Regions from separate parts of the Homo sapiens genome. Here region 2 is linked to region 1. The links are contacts of gene promoters, found by promoter capture Hi-C in blood cells and fetal thymus (Javierre and others, 2016). All regions are on one chromosome and are shown on one strand. Each heading gives the region's core, a stretch centred on a gene start or on the middle of the fragment in contact. The rest is flanking DNA. Distances are from core to core; before and after follow the strand shown.

The links. The method cuts DNA at HindIII sites, captures the fragments that hold promoters and counts their contacts. A CHiCAGO score of 5 or more calls a contact.
Region 2: a fragment that was not itself captured here is called in contact with the fragment with the promoter of ADGRL1-AS1 in region 1 in 2 of 17 cell types (naive CD4 T cells and fetal thymus); the score reaches 8.1 in naive CD4 T cells.

Annotation. Positions count from the first base shown.
Region 1 is chr19:14,135,034-14,142,316 of GRCh38, reverse strand. It overlaps ADGRL1-AS1 (ADGRL1 antisense RNA 1), which reads right to left and starts at 5,165. Exons shown (of 3, transcript NR_045214.1): 1 at 5,094-5,165. ASF1B (anti-silencing function 1B histone chaperone) reads left to right here and starts at 5,728. Exons shown (of 4, transcript NM_018154.3): 1 at 5,728-5,969. The coding sequence starts at 5,861. RefSeq lists enhancers at 5,083-5,242, 4,739-5,365, 5,443-5,582 and a silencer at 5,913-5,962. The HindIII fragment of the contact is 2,792 bases long and covers 2,747-5,538 here.
Region 2 is chr19:14,512,551-14,519,566 of GRCh38, reverse strand. DNAJB1 (DnaJ heat shock protein family (Hsp40) member B1) reads left to right here and starts at 1,170. Exons shown (of 3, transcript NM_006145.3): 1 at 1,170-1,428; 2 at 2,521-3,101; 3 at 3,397-4,798. The coding sequence starts at 1,218. The coding sequence ends at 3,627. RefSeq lists silencers at 789-1,108, 1,319-1,888. The HindIII fragment of the contact is 508 bases long and covers 1,129-1,636 here.

The DNA of each region.
Region 1 (7,283 bases), core at 3,916-6,415:
TGTTGGTGGAAACAGTTTAGGCACTCATCATTTGGGGAACGGCAGGAACCCTCCTGAAATCCAAGTTCCTAGATATCAGCCAAGGGCCAATCTTGCAAACAGGTCTTTCTAAGGATAGCAGTCTCAGGCCTGCTAGGTTAACTCTAAATTGCGCAGACACCATTTATATAAAAGTATAGAACATGACAAACAATACTATATATTGTTTAAAGATACACGCCGATATGCACAGAAGACTGTAAACACCAAATTCAGGGTTGTGGTTACATGTGAGGAAAAAGGAAGAGGAATGGGTTTGATGTAGGGGTATAGGGCCCTTCAGTTGCATCTCTAATGTTTTAGCTGTTAAGCTGGGTAACAGTATTTTGCTATAGCACTTCTTATACTTTCTCGAGCATGTGTGCACCTGAAGTATTAAACAAGAATGAAGACGTATCTGCTTATTACTATATGCTACTAACAGTTCAGTCTTTTGTTTGTTTTTAGACAGGGTCTCACTCTGTTGCCTAGCTAAGCTGGAGTGCAGTGGTGAGATCTTGGTTCACTGCAACCTCTGCCCCCAGGGCTCAAGCAATCCTCTCACCTCAGCCTCCTGAGTAGCTGGGACCACAGGCACATGCCACCACACCCGGCTAATTTTTTTATGTTTTGTAGAGACAGGGTTTTGCCCAGGCTGGTCTCGAACTCCTGAGGTCAAGCAATCTACCCGCCTCAGCCTCCCAAAGTGCTGGGATTACAGGCGTGAGCCACTGCACCTGGCTGGTTCATGTTTATTGAGTACTTTTCACATTCCAGGTACTATGCTAAACCCACCCTTTACATAGATTTATTCTTTTTTTTTTTGAGACGGAGTCTTCCTCTGTCACCAGACTGGAGTGCAGTGGTGCAATCTAGGCTCACTGCAACCTCCACCTCCCAGGTTCAAGCAATTCCCCTGCCTCAGCCTCCCAAGTAGCTAGGACTACAGGTACGCACCACCACGGCTGGCTAATTTTTTGTATTTTAGTAGAGACAGGTTTTAATCATGTTTGCCATGATGGTCTCGATCTCCTGACCTGGTAATCCGCCCACCTCGGCCTCCCAGAGTGTGTGACTCACTGCGCCCAGCCAGATTTATTCTTTTTGAAAAATTGATTGAGGACTTTCTATGAGCCACGTCCTCTGCTAAGCTCTGGAAGTACAACATTGAGAGGTGTGAGCTAGGCGAGATCTCTTCTCACAACCAGCTTTCAATCTACTGAGGGATGATGAGATAATAAGCACAATTTAAAACCAAAATAAGTAGAAATTCTTTTTTTCTTTTTAAGATGGAATCTCTCTCAGTTGCCCAGGCTTGAGTGCAGTGGCGTGATCTCGGCTCATTGCAGCCTCTGCCTCCCCGGTTCAAGCAATTCTTCTGCCTCCTGAGCAGCTGGGACTACAGGCACGTGCCACCACGCCCAGCTAATTTATTTATTTATTTATTTATTTATTTTGTATTTTTTTTTTTTAGTAGAAACGGGGTCTTGCCATGTTGGCCAGGCTGGTCTCGAACTCCTGACCTCAAGTGACCGGCCCGCCTTGGCCTCCTAAAGTGCTGGGATTATAGGTGTGAGCCACCATGCCCACCCGAAAATAAGTACAAATTCTGATATGCGTTACTAAGATCATAAAACTGAGTGATGTGATTAAGAAAAAGCTACTTTATTTATTTATTTATTTTTTTTGACACGGAGTCTTGCTCTGTCACCCAGGCTGGATTGCAGAGGCACGATCTCAGCTCACTGCAACCCTCACCTCTCAGATTCAAGCGATTCACCTGCCTCAGCCTCCCAAGTAGCTGGGACTACAGGCGCCCGCCACCACGCCCGGCTAATTTTTTGTATTTTTAGTAGAGATGCGGTTTCACCATGTTAGCCAGGATGGTCTCGATCTCCTGACCTCGTGATCCGCCTGCCTTGGCCTCCCAAAGTGCTGGGATTACAGGCATGAGCCACCGCGCCCGGCCAAGAAAGTGCTACTTTAAATAGGGTACTCTGGGAAGTCTTCTTTCAGAGGACATTTGAGCTGAACCACAAGCGAAGAGAAAGAGACAGCCATGCAATTATCTGGAGGAAGCACATTCCAGGCAGAGGGAACGGCAAGTGCAAAGCCCTGCGGCAGAAATAAGCTGGGTGTGTTGAAAGAAGGGAAATAAAGCCAGCTGGGCTTGAGAGCGGTGACAAGAGGAAGAATGGTAGATGAGGCCTGAGAGGTCAGCTGAGGCCACCACGCAGGGCCGCCTAAGCCATAGGAAAGATCTTAGGTTTCATTCTAAGTAGGATAAGCCTCTGAAGGTTTTAAGCAGAGTAATGACATGATCTGGTTTACAAGTGAAGATCATTCAGCCAGCTGTAAGGAGAATGCATCATAGACAGGGCCACATTCTTCATTAGCGCCACGGAAATAATGCTGGTGGATCATGAGCTTCTCAGGGGCTACGAAAAGGTCAGGGACAGGGATAAAGGGAAAAAAGTTCCACAATGCAAAGAGAAAACTACAAAGTTGGAATGAATAAATGTTTAATTAAGCATCTAGAAATGTGACATCATGACAACTGCATTAATCATTAAATTTAGTATTCATAAGCAATCGAATTACATTTGGAAATTAGATTTTCTCAAATCACAAATATCCCTAAGTATGCAATGATTGCCAAGAAATCAAGCGAATCATAAATGTGAGTTTCCTTGAAGCCAAATAATTTCAAAAGAATAAAAACAAAGCTTTCGATTTTTTAACAGCTAAAAAGAATTTTTCTTAACTTAATGTGAGATGTAGATACCAAAAATGGGCTAGGCGCTGTAATCCCAGCACTTAAGGACAAGATAGGTGGACTGCTTGAGGCCAGGAGTTTCAAGACCAGCCTGGGCAACAGCGAGACCCTGTCTCTACAAAAAATTTAAAAAGTATAAGAGGCAGGGCACGGTGGCTCATGCCTGTAATCTCAGCACTTTGGGCGGCCGAGGTGAGTGGATCACCTGAGGTCAGGAGTTTGAGACCAGCCTGGCCAACATAGTGAAACCCCATCTTTACTAAAAATACAAAAATTAGCTGGGTAAGGTAGCGTGTGCCTGTAGTCCCAGCTACTCGGGAGGCTGAGGTGGGAGAATCGCTTGAAGCTGGAAGCAGGAGGTTGCAGTGAGCTGAGATTGCGCCACTGCATTCCAGCCTGAGTGACAGAGCAAGACTCCCTCTCAAAAAAAAAATAAAATAAAATAAAACAAATTAGGCATGGTGGCACGCACTGGTGATCCCAGCCACTCGGGAGGCTGAGGTGGGAGGATCACTTGAGCCCAAGAGTTCCAGGTTATAGTGAGCCACGATTATGCCACTTGCACTCCAGCCTGGGCAACAGACCTCTATTAAAAAAAAAAAATCCCACAGGAACTGGATTGTTTAAAAAGAAAAGGAAAAGGAAAACATACTAGCACAGTGAGTGAGTCCTAGTGAGCCCACAGAGGTGACTGGGTAAGAAATACTAGTGCCTTGGCTCAGTGCTGTTCAGGCGTACGGCCTGTGAGTTTGAACACTGTCCAGAGCACCCTTAGAAAGGCCTCTCTGGGGAGAGGACATTTGAACAGAGACTTGAATGACAAGAAGGCATAAGCCATGCCAAGAGCCTAGGAGAAGAGGTTCTGGGCAGAGGCTTTGCACTGGGAGTGGCTTGTCAGAATTTTAACAAAAAGAGGGTTACTTAGCCTGGTTTGAAGTTGGAGCTGGGTGGTTAACAGGAGACAAAGCATAGAGTTTCAAAGACAATGCTCTCATCCGGAGAAGTGACCTGGTCAAATGTGTTTCTGACCTTCGCTGTCCAGTAATACAGGAGCCACTTGTCACACGGGCTCAGGAGCACTCAACTGCGGCTATCAAGACAGCTAAACTGAACTTTCTTTTTTAAAATTTAATTTTAATTTTTAGAGACAGGGTCTCACTCTGACACTCAGGCTGGAGTGCAGTGGCTGGAGCATTCTGGGCTCAAGAGATCCTCCTGCCTCAGCTTCAGGAGTAGCAGACACTACAGGTATGCACTACCACACCTGGCTTATTCTTTTATTTTTTGTAGATATGAGGTCTTGTTATGTTGCCCAGGCTGATCTTGAACTCCTGGCCTCAAGAAATCCTCCATGACCAGCCTCTAAAATTACAAATAATAATAAAAAAAGATATGGCCGGGCACAGTGGCTCACGCCTGTAATCCCAGCACTCTGGAAGGCCGAGGCGGGCGGATCACTTGAGGTCAGGAGTTCGAGACCAGCCTGGCCAACATGGTGAAACCCCGTCTCTACTGAAAATACAGAAAAAAAATTAGCTGGTTGTGGTGGTGGGCACCTGTAATCCCAGCTACTCAGGAGGCTGAGGCAGGAGAATCGCTTGAACCCGGGAGGTAGAGGTTGCAGTGAGCCGAGATCGCGCCATTGCACTCCAGCCTGAGTGACAGCGCGAGATTCCATCTCAAAAAAAAAAAAGTGGCTTCCAAAAAATGTTAATTTTACACCTAATTTTGGTGCGCGGCTGGCATTATTTTTCCACTGGGCAGCACTGATCGCCCGTGGGGGCAGAGACTCTGAGACCTGGAGTCTCCCAGGCCGGGGGCGACGGCCCAGACGGGAGGCGGTGGAGAGAAGTTTCCGGATGTATTATGTGGTCATGAATCATGTCAGGGAATTGCCACGGCCCCCGTTGAATGGGGAGGCGCTGCCTCGGGCGCTGAGTAGCAGAGCCCGGACTCTGAACACTGGTCTGCCCCCGAACTGGAACTCCCATTTTCAGTACCGTCCGCTTGAAACCTCCCAAGAGCCCTCAAGGGGGCGAGAGAGGGATCCAAACCCCTCGGGGGCGAGAGCGGGATCCGAACCCCTCGGGGGCGAGAGCGGGATCCGAACCCCTCGGGGGCGAGAGCGGGATCCGAACCCCTCGGGGGCGAAAGCGGGATCCGAACCCGGCCGGATTCCCGAGGTCTGAGCGCGCCTCGTGACCGCCACTCCGAACGTTCGCAACGTTCACAACGGACTCCCGCGCCGCTGGACCTCAAGGGTCAGGAGCCACTCAGAAAAGCTCCAGGAAACGCTCACCTGTTGACAGACGCTGAGGCCGCAAACGCTCCTCCTCTCTCTTCACACTCGCCAACACCGCGGTGGCGCTCGACTTCCGCTTCTCTCCAGCGAATCCCCAGCTGAGCCTCCTTCTGCTCCCGCCACCATTACCAATCCAGCCAATAAACTCTCAGAAAACCCTCTTTATCTCCGCCCCACTCCCTCCTGCCAATCACTTCGGGTGCGAGCACCGCCCTTCCCGCCTTCTTTAGCGAGCGCCGCGCGCCACCGCTCGGCGGGTGGCGGCGCTGCGCGCTGCGGGATGCATCTCCCGGAAAAGCGAGGCGAGGGGCGGGCCACGCCGGTGCGGGAACCCTCAGGATTGGCCAGAAGGAGGCCGGCGCTGTGACTCCGTCCATTCCCGCCGTTGACATCCAAGTCGGAGACGCTGGGGATTGGTTTCCAGCGGACACGCTAAGAAGCTTGGAGATAGTTTCGCCCTCCTCACACGCTGCGGAGAGGGAGCTCCGCTGATTGGTCCGAGGAGTCTGGGCGCGCGCCGATCGGCGCTCCAGGACTGGCTGAGGGGGTGCGCGCGCCGCCAGGGAGCGTTGGCGGTGATTGGCCAGAGGGCGGAGGCCGGCTATTTGAAGGCGGCGCGCGGACTAGGTGCGCACTTCAGTTCTCGGAGAGAAGAGGCGGGAGTGGACCTGGTCAGCCCTACCCCACTGACCCCACCGGACCCAGGCGCGGCCTCCGCCACAGCCACAGCCCCTGCCCCTGCTGCGGCGCGGCGAGGCGAGGCGATGGCCAAGGTGTCGGTGCTGAACGTGGCGGTCCTGGAGAACCCGAGCCCTTTCCACAGCCCCTTCCGGTTCGAGATCAGCTTCGAGTGCAGTGAAGCCCTGGCGGACGGTGAGGCTGGGCCTGTGCGGGGACCCCCACCCCCGGGCCGACCCCGGCCTCCCCTCAGAGAACCGCTCCCATGGCCAACTTGATCTCCCCCATGAAACCCCTCGTCCCCCTTCCGCCAACCCCGATCTCCCCCAGCCCGCCAGTCAACCGGATCTCCCGGTGGAGACCCCCCGCCACCAGCCAACACGGACCTCCCCGTGACCTCCTCCCCCACTGCCCGCCTTGACCTCCCGGGTGGAGACCCCCCGCCAGCTAACTCGGACCTCCCAGTGGCCTCTTCCCCCACTGCCCGCCCCGACCTCCCCATAGAGATTAACCCCCTCCAAGCCCCATTTCCCGCGTGGGGAACCTCATCCATCTTTTTTCTCTGGAGCTCTTCCTAGGTACCCGTTTTCATGGGGAGACCTTCTCGGCCTCCATTTCTTAACCCACGGAGATCTTCAGCCACCGTGGTTTCCCTGTGGCAAGACCCCCGCTTCAACCACCCACCCATTTTTGCCCACTTATTCCCTCTTTCCTGTAGTGAGATACTCACACCTCCCATTTTCCCTCTGGAGACCCCCAATATCCAGCCCCTTCCCATTTTCCCCGGGGGAAATCCCAGCCATCTCCTATTTTCCCTATGGAGACCTCTCACCCAAGCTCCTCTCTCCTTGCCGTGAAGACCCTCCCCTCCAGTAACCTTTTTTTCCTGTGAAAACCCCTCAACCCCTTTTCAGGACCTCTCTCAACCCCATCTTCCCATTTGTGTCCCACCAGTCCCCTCCCCAACCTGCCAATATTTCAATAACCCCACGCCCACCAGTTGCTGCCGCTTTTCTGCCCCAATGCACATACCCTGGAACCTGGTTTCTCTCCTTCGTTGGGGCCCAACCCCCCTATGCTTGAGCTCTCCCTGGGAAAGGATGCTACCGTCTTTGAGGGGAACTTTGTCTCCCCAGCTCCCCTTCCCCACCTTTCTCTGTGGGCTTGGATAAACACACTGAGATCCGAGGGGTGGCATAGCCAGGCAGGCATTAGCTAGTTCTCCAGGTTTGCCCACCCGTTTCCAGCTGAGTTACTGCAGCAATTTTTCTGTCACTTTTTCTTTCTTCTTCTTCCTCTTCTTTTTTTTTTTTTTTTTTTTGAGACAGTCTCACTCTGTTGCCCAGGCTGGAGTGCAATGGCACGATCTCGGCTCACTGCAACCTCCACCTCCCGAGTTCAAGCGATTCTTCTGCCTCAGCCTCCCGAGTAGCTGGGACTACAGGCGCCTGTCACCACGCCCAGCTAATTTTAGTATTTTTAGTGGAGGCAGCGTTTCACCATGTTAGC
Region 2 (7,016 bases), core at 133-2,632, 380 kb before region 1:
TTGAGAGGGCAGTAAAGGGAAGAAGGCGGGACTGGGAGGACCTTGGGAGATGCGCTTCCGTCCAGATCCTCACCTTGCTTTAGGAGGTGAGAACAGAGGCAGTCTTCCGTCCCAAAATCCTTCTCCCCACGGTTGGGAGAATAGCGCTGGTGGGTTTTTTGTTCATTTTACTTTATTTTACTTATTTTATTTATTTATGAGACGGAGTCTCGCTCTGTTGCCGAGGCTGGAGTGCAACGGCCGGATCTCGGCTCACTGCAACCTCCGCCTCCCCGATTCAAGCTATTCTCAGGCCTCAATCTCCTGAGTAGCTGGGATTACAGGTTCGTGCCACCAACGCCCGGGTAATTTTTATATTTTTAGCAGAGATGGGGTTTCACCATGTTGGCCAGGCTGGTCTCGAACTCCTGACCTCAAGTGATCCGCCCGCCTCGGCCTCCCAAAATGCTGGGATTACAGGCGTGAGCCACCGCGCCCGGCCTGTTTGTTAATCTTAAATAGAAACGGAGTCTCCTTATGTTGCCTAGGCTGGTCTCCAACTCCTAGGCTCAAGAGATCCTCCTGTCTTGGCCTCAGGAAGTGATGGGATTACAGGCATGAGGCTCCGCGCCCGGCCTGATAGGTTCTCTTATTGCCATGTTGTAGATAGAAGGGGGCCCCTGGGTTAGGCAGACACAGGTTAGGTAGTTCGTCCGGCGTCACCGGGCGGGAGCCCACCGCAGGCCCCACGAGACAAGGGCGAGCAGGTTCATCGCCTCCCGGGGAAAGGACTGGGTAGTCCCAGGCCCCACCCCTTCCTGGAACAGCAAGTTCGCTGTGGGTCCCGACCTACTGACCCAGGCGGAGGGCGGGACGCAGGGTAGCTGGGGCCGCGTAGAGAGGGAAAGAAGGTCGCGATTGGCTCGTCCCGAAAGGTGGGCGGGGCCTCCTCCGACCTGTGCGCGCGCGCCGCGGGGAGGTGTTGCCGAGGGCGGAGCGGGAGGGGGCGTGGCCCCGCGCGGGCGGCCGTTGACGGCGAGGCCCCGCCCCGGATGTCGCGTGTCGCTGAAAGGGCGGCGGCGATTGGCCGGCGCCGCGGGGGCGGGCGGGGCGGAAGGTTCTGGAGGGGGCTGGCGGGCTCTGGAAGCTTCCGCCGGACGGGTATATAGAGTCCGGGACTGGTCGGCGGCGGAGCCGGGGGACGGCGACAGCGGGTCGGCGGGCCGCAGGAGGGGGTCATGGGTAAAGACTACTACCAGACGTTGGGCCTGGCCCGCGGCGCGTCGGACGAGGAGATCAAGCGGGCCTACCGCCGCCAGGCGCTGCGCTACCACCCGGACAAGAACAAGGAGCCCGGCGCCGAGGAGAAGTTCAAGGAGATCGCTGAGGCCTACGACGTGCTCAGCGACCCGCGCAAGCGCGAGATCTTCGACCGCTACGGGGAGGAAGGTGTGTGCTCGCGGCCAGGGGCGCGGCCCCGCCTTTTGACAGACAGGGAAACTGAGGCACGCTGGCCCCTCTCGGCGGCCCCCCGGGAAGGACGCCCCGGGCCGTGGGGCCGAGCTGCCCCGCCCTCCGGCCTCGCGGGCCTCCGCCCTCGGATTGGCGGCCGCGCGGTGGGAGGAGGAGCCTTGGCCCAGCCGCTCGGCCAGAAGCTTCTAGCATGTCTGGGGCTGCCCCTCCCCGGGCGCCTCCTCCCGCGGCCCCGAGCAGCCCCGGGGTGCGGTGCATGGGGGTGGGGGAGCCGGGGGTGACGACGGGGACGGCGCGGCGGAGCCCGCTGCGGACCCGGGCTCACCTGGGCTCGGCCGCCGGGGTCCGCGGGGCGGCGCCTCCGGCTCAGCTGCGGGGCGAGGGGTTGTGAATGCAGGAGCCGACCCCGTTCGTGGGCTTGGGGGCTGGGTTGGGATAATTCCCGGGAAGTGATGACCTGGCCCCGGCAGGGCACGCAGGAGGCAGCGGCCGCCCAGGTCCGGAGAGCGGGGCCGCCTCGGAGGGTAAGGAGAGCAGGGCTTTTTGTTCCTGTGCCCGTTGATGATTCAGGCTGGCTTCTGGGCTTGATCTGGAGCTGACTTTTTGTGCAAGGATGGTGGCAGTGAATGCTAATGTGTGAGGATTTAAAAACTCCCTATTTATTTTTGTTTTTTTTTTTCTTCTCTTCCTACGCACCATTAGCCCTAAAACGTTGAGAGTAAACACTTACCGAAAGCCGACCCTGGACCATGTGTCTTTAGCCATCTCTTGGTGATGTTGCCAGGAGGATGGGTCAGTCCAGGAGTGGCAGGGCCTAGGTGGCACCTGGAGGTGAACACCTAACCGCATGAGTCCTTTTCCACTGTCAGGCTACGCGGAAATACTGTTGGTAGGGGGGCGTCTCTGCTGTTGGCAGTGAGAGGTAGAAACTTGGGGTTCTTCCTTGCTCTCCCCTGACAGACAAAAAAGTTCCTCCCCCATGGCTTCCAAGCTGTTTCCCCCTGTAAGGGAAGCTCGAGAGAGAGTCTGCTGTTCAGCCATCTGACTGCTTCTAAATCTGCTTTTCAGGCCTAAAGGGGAGTGGCCCCAGTGGCGGTAGCGGCGGTGGTGCCAATGGTACCTCTTTCAGCTACACATTCCATGGAGACCCTCATGCCATGTTTGCTGAGTTCTTCGGTGGCAGAAATCCCTTTGACACCTTTTTTGGGCAGCGGAACGGGGAGGAAGGCATGGACATTGATGACCCATTCTCTGGCTTCCCTATGGGCATGGGTGGCTTCACCAACGTGAACTTTGGCCGCTCCCGCTCTGCCCAAGAGCCCGCCCGAAAGAAGCAAGATCCCCCAGTCACCCACGACCTTCGAGTCTCCCTTGAAGAGATCTACAGCGGCTGTACCAAGAAGATGAAAATCTCCCACAAGCGGCTAAACCCCGACGGAAAGAGCATTCGAAACGAAGACAAAATATTGACCATCGAAGTGAAGAAGGGGTGGAAAGAAGGAACCAAAATCACTTTCCCCAAGGAAGGAGACCAGACCTCCAACAACATTCCAGCTGATATCGTCTTTGTTTTAAAGGACAAGCCCCACAATATCTTTAAGAGAGATGGCTCTGATGTCATTTATCCTGCCAGGATCAGCCTCCGGGAGGTAAGGTGCCAGGTGGGGCGGTGTCTGTAGAGGGCGATGGCTGCTTTTTGAAGCAGTTTAGTATTTGCTGAACCAATGTGTTGGGGTGTGTGGTGCGTGCCAGGCTTGGGGCACAACAGTGAACAGGACTGACCAGGGCGCTGTTGTGGAGCTTTCGTGGTGGGGACGTGTAGATTTGGGGGCCAGGTCTTAGCTGCAGAGGCCTGATGGGTCTTATCTATGGCAGACGGCCTCTGGGCAAGAGCTGAGCCTCTTGAGCCAGCTTCCATCTAATGCTGTCCTTTTGCTTTTCAAGGCTCTGTGTGGCTGCACAGTGAACGTCCCCACTCTGGACGGCAGGACGATACCCGTCGTATTCAAAGATGTTATCAGGCCTGGCATGCGGCGAAAAGTTCCTGGAGAAGGCCTCCCCCTCCCCAAAACACCCGAGAAACGTGGGGACCTCATTATTGAGTTTGAAGTGATCTTCCCCGAAAGGATTCCCCAGACATCAAGAACCGTACTTGAGCAGGTTCTTCCAATATAGCTATCTGAGCTCCCCAAGGACTGACCAGGGACCTTTCCAGAGCTCAAGGATTTCTGGACCTTTCTACCAGTTGTGGACCATGAGAGGGTGGGAGGGCCCAGGGAGGGCTTTCGTACTGCTGAATGTTTTCCAGAGCATATATTACAATCTTTCAAAGTCGCACACTAGACTTCAGTGGTTTTTCGAGCTATAGGGCATCAGGTGGTGGGAACAGCAGGAAAAGGCATTCCAGTCTGCCCCACTGGGTCTGGCAGCCCTCCCGGGATGGGCCCACATCCACCTCCAGTCCCTGGCCAGGGGTGAGAGGCAGACCAGCAGATGGACTTGATCCCTCTGTGTCTTTTTGCTTCTGGCTGGTAGATAATGTCAACCTGCAGTCTTGATTCCCAGACCCTGTACACTCCTCCTTTTCTGTTGTGTGATCAGTTTGTGCTTTATTCTGTATTTGTCTCCCATGTCTTGCTCTTCTCCTGGAGAATTCTGTCTTCTCTTTGGCCATCTCAAATTGAGAACCTAAACTATTCCTGCAGAACTGCCTGGTTGGCGTCCACAAGCAATACCTCTCGTTCCAGCAGGACCAAGGGAGCCAGCCTCCAGTGAGTGACTCCAGCAAGTGCAGCCACCTCTCCCTTGATGGTCTGGGAGCCTGGCCTCAGCAAGGGGCCTTCCTGACCTCTGGCTCCAGTGAAGCTGAATGTCCTCACTTTGTGGGTCACACTCTTTACATTTCTGTAAGGCAATCTTGGCACACGTGGGGCTTACCAGTGGCCCAGGTAATTTTTTGTTTCATGGACTATGGACTCTTTCAAAGGGATCTGATCCTTTTGAATTTTGCACAGCCCTAGATACAATCCCTTTTGATAAAAGGGTCTTTGCTTCTGATTACAGGAGCACTGTGGAACGTCTGTAAATATGTTTTTATAATTCCATGTATAGTTGGTGTACACTCAAAACCTGTCCCCGGCAGCCAGTGCTCTCTGTATAGGGCCATAATGGAATTCTGAAGAAATCTTGGGGAGGGAAGGGGAGTTGGAACAAATGTCTGTTCCCTGGAGGCCAGTCCAGTGCTCAGACCTTTAGACTCATTGTAAGTTGCCACTGCCAACATGAGACCAAAGTGTGTGACTAGTCAATGAAGTGCGACAGCATTAAAGACTGATGCTAAACCTCAGGGGAGCGGTCCTGTGACTCTGTTTGAGGGTTCTGCTGGTTTTGGGGGTGGAGTGGGGAGCTGGGCATCCTTCCAAATTCAATCAAGGTGAGAGGGTGGGATGGGCAGGAGGCAAGTGCCCTGCAAGGGAAACGTAAGTCTCCCTTCCTCAGCCATAAGTGGGTTGGAGAACTTCTACCCAGACTCGGGGTCCAAAAAACCAGAGACCCAAGCACAGTGGCCTTGGGGATCATTTTTTGATGAAGGTTGGAGTCAAAGTAGCGGTGGGGAGAGGCAGGGTCTGGCTCCTAATTCTGCCTTTCTTCAGGGTCCCTGGCTTTTTCAGCAGACCTTGGCTCTGGGGCCAAGGGGCCAACCCAGGGTCTGGCCTCTTAATTCCTTATCACTCCTTCCCTGCTAGAACGGGCTGGGCGTCCTGAAGGCTGGCCAAACCGGAGCTCAAGGTCCTGCCCAGGACTAGCCCCACTGTAGAGAGGACCCATTTCCTGCCTTGGCTTTATTTGCAGGCTACTAAAGCTGCTTTTACTTTGTAACTTTCTTTAAAATAACTGGTTTTATTATAAAGTAATTGCTCAGGCTTAAAACAATGTATTGCTGCTTTGTTACAAAATGTTCTAAAGTGGAAACACTGTATATAGACCAGGAGCAGTGGCTCAGGCATGTAATCCCAGTACTTTGGGAGGCCAAGGTGGGTAGATCCCTTGAGCTCAGGAGTTTGAGACCAGCCTAGACAACATTGTGAAACCCCATCTCTACAAAATTTAAAAATTCAGCCGGAGAATGCAGCGTACACCTGTAGGGCCAGCTATTTATGGGACTGAGGCAGGAGGATCAATTGAGCCCAAGAGGTGGAGGCAGTAGCAAGCTGTGTTTGTGCCACTGCACTCCAACCTGGGTGACAAAGTGAGACCCTGTATCAAGAAAAAAAAACTAAAACACAGTATCCAAAAGTCAAACTGGGCCAGACGCAGTGGCTCACACCTGTAATCCCAGCACTTTGGGAGGCCAAGGCGGGCAGATCACCTGAGGTCAGGAGTTTCAGACCAGCCTGGCCAACATGGTGAAACCCCGTCTCTATTAAAACAAAAAGCCAGGCGTGGTGCACGTACCTGTAGTCCCATTTACTCAGGAGGCTGAGGCAGGAGAATCACTTGAACATGGGAGGCAGAGGTTGCAGTGAGCAAAGATCCCACCACTGCACTCCAGCCTGGGTGACAGAGCGAGGCTGTGTCTCACAAAAAAGTGTCAAGCTAAGAGTTGCTTTCCCTTCCCACTGAAACAGTTGAAGCGCTGAAAACAGGCTAGGGGCAGCCCTGCCAGTCCAGGAGAACTTTCTGCAATGACTAGAACGTTCTATATACCGTTTACTTAAACATCTTACAAATTCAATAAAATTAGAATCAGTTCCTCAGTCCTGCCACACTTCAGTTGCTTAGCAGCCACACATGTATGTGGCCAGTGGCAACTGTTGGACAAGTCAAGTCTAGAGGGCTTTTCCCTAAAGACATTGCAGGGGTGACTTTGAAGAGCAGCCACATTAAGCCAGGAGACGCCAGCCCAATCAGGAGGTGACCCTGGAATATCAAGAGCTAAGAGATGTTTACCAAAGTATCCCACACGCCAAGGTCACATTTATTGCGGAACTGACCTGACCTCATTGGTGACACAAATCCCAGGGCTGCCATCCCCACCCCCAAGTCTCCATTATACACCAAGTCCCTGTGAACTTCATACTGAAGTGTCACAAACATAAAGGTGCACGAAGCCTTGAGGTATATACAATTCTGGGAACTTCACAAAAAACACGGCCAAGCAACCTACCAGGTAGCAGTGTGAGGAGTGGGACGGTGGGATTTTGAGGGGAAAATCTTGGTGGTAAAAGGGCCCAAAGACCTTTCACACATGCATTTTTTTGCTCAAAGGCCACTACTTGGCTTGTCTATCTTGGCCGGATATCTGGTGCACCCACATGCAAACTTTTCCCAAAGTCTTGGGCTTGTTTTTTTTTTTTTTTTTTTTCAGACAGAGTCTCGCTCTATCCAAGCTGGAGCGCGGTGGTGCAATCTCGGCTCACTGCGATCTCCACCTTCCAGGTTCAAGCAATTCTCAGCCTTCCAAGTAGCTGAGATTACAGGCGTGCGCCACCACGCCAGGCTAATTTTTGTATTCTTAGTATAGAGATGGGGTTTCACCATGTTGGCCAGGCTGGCCTCAAACT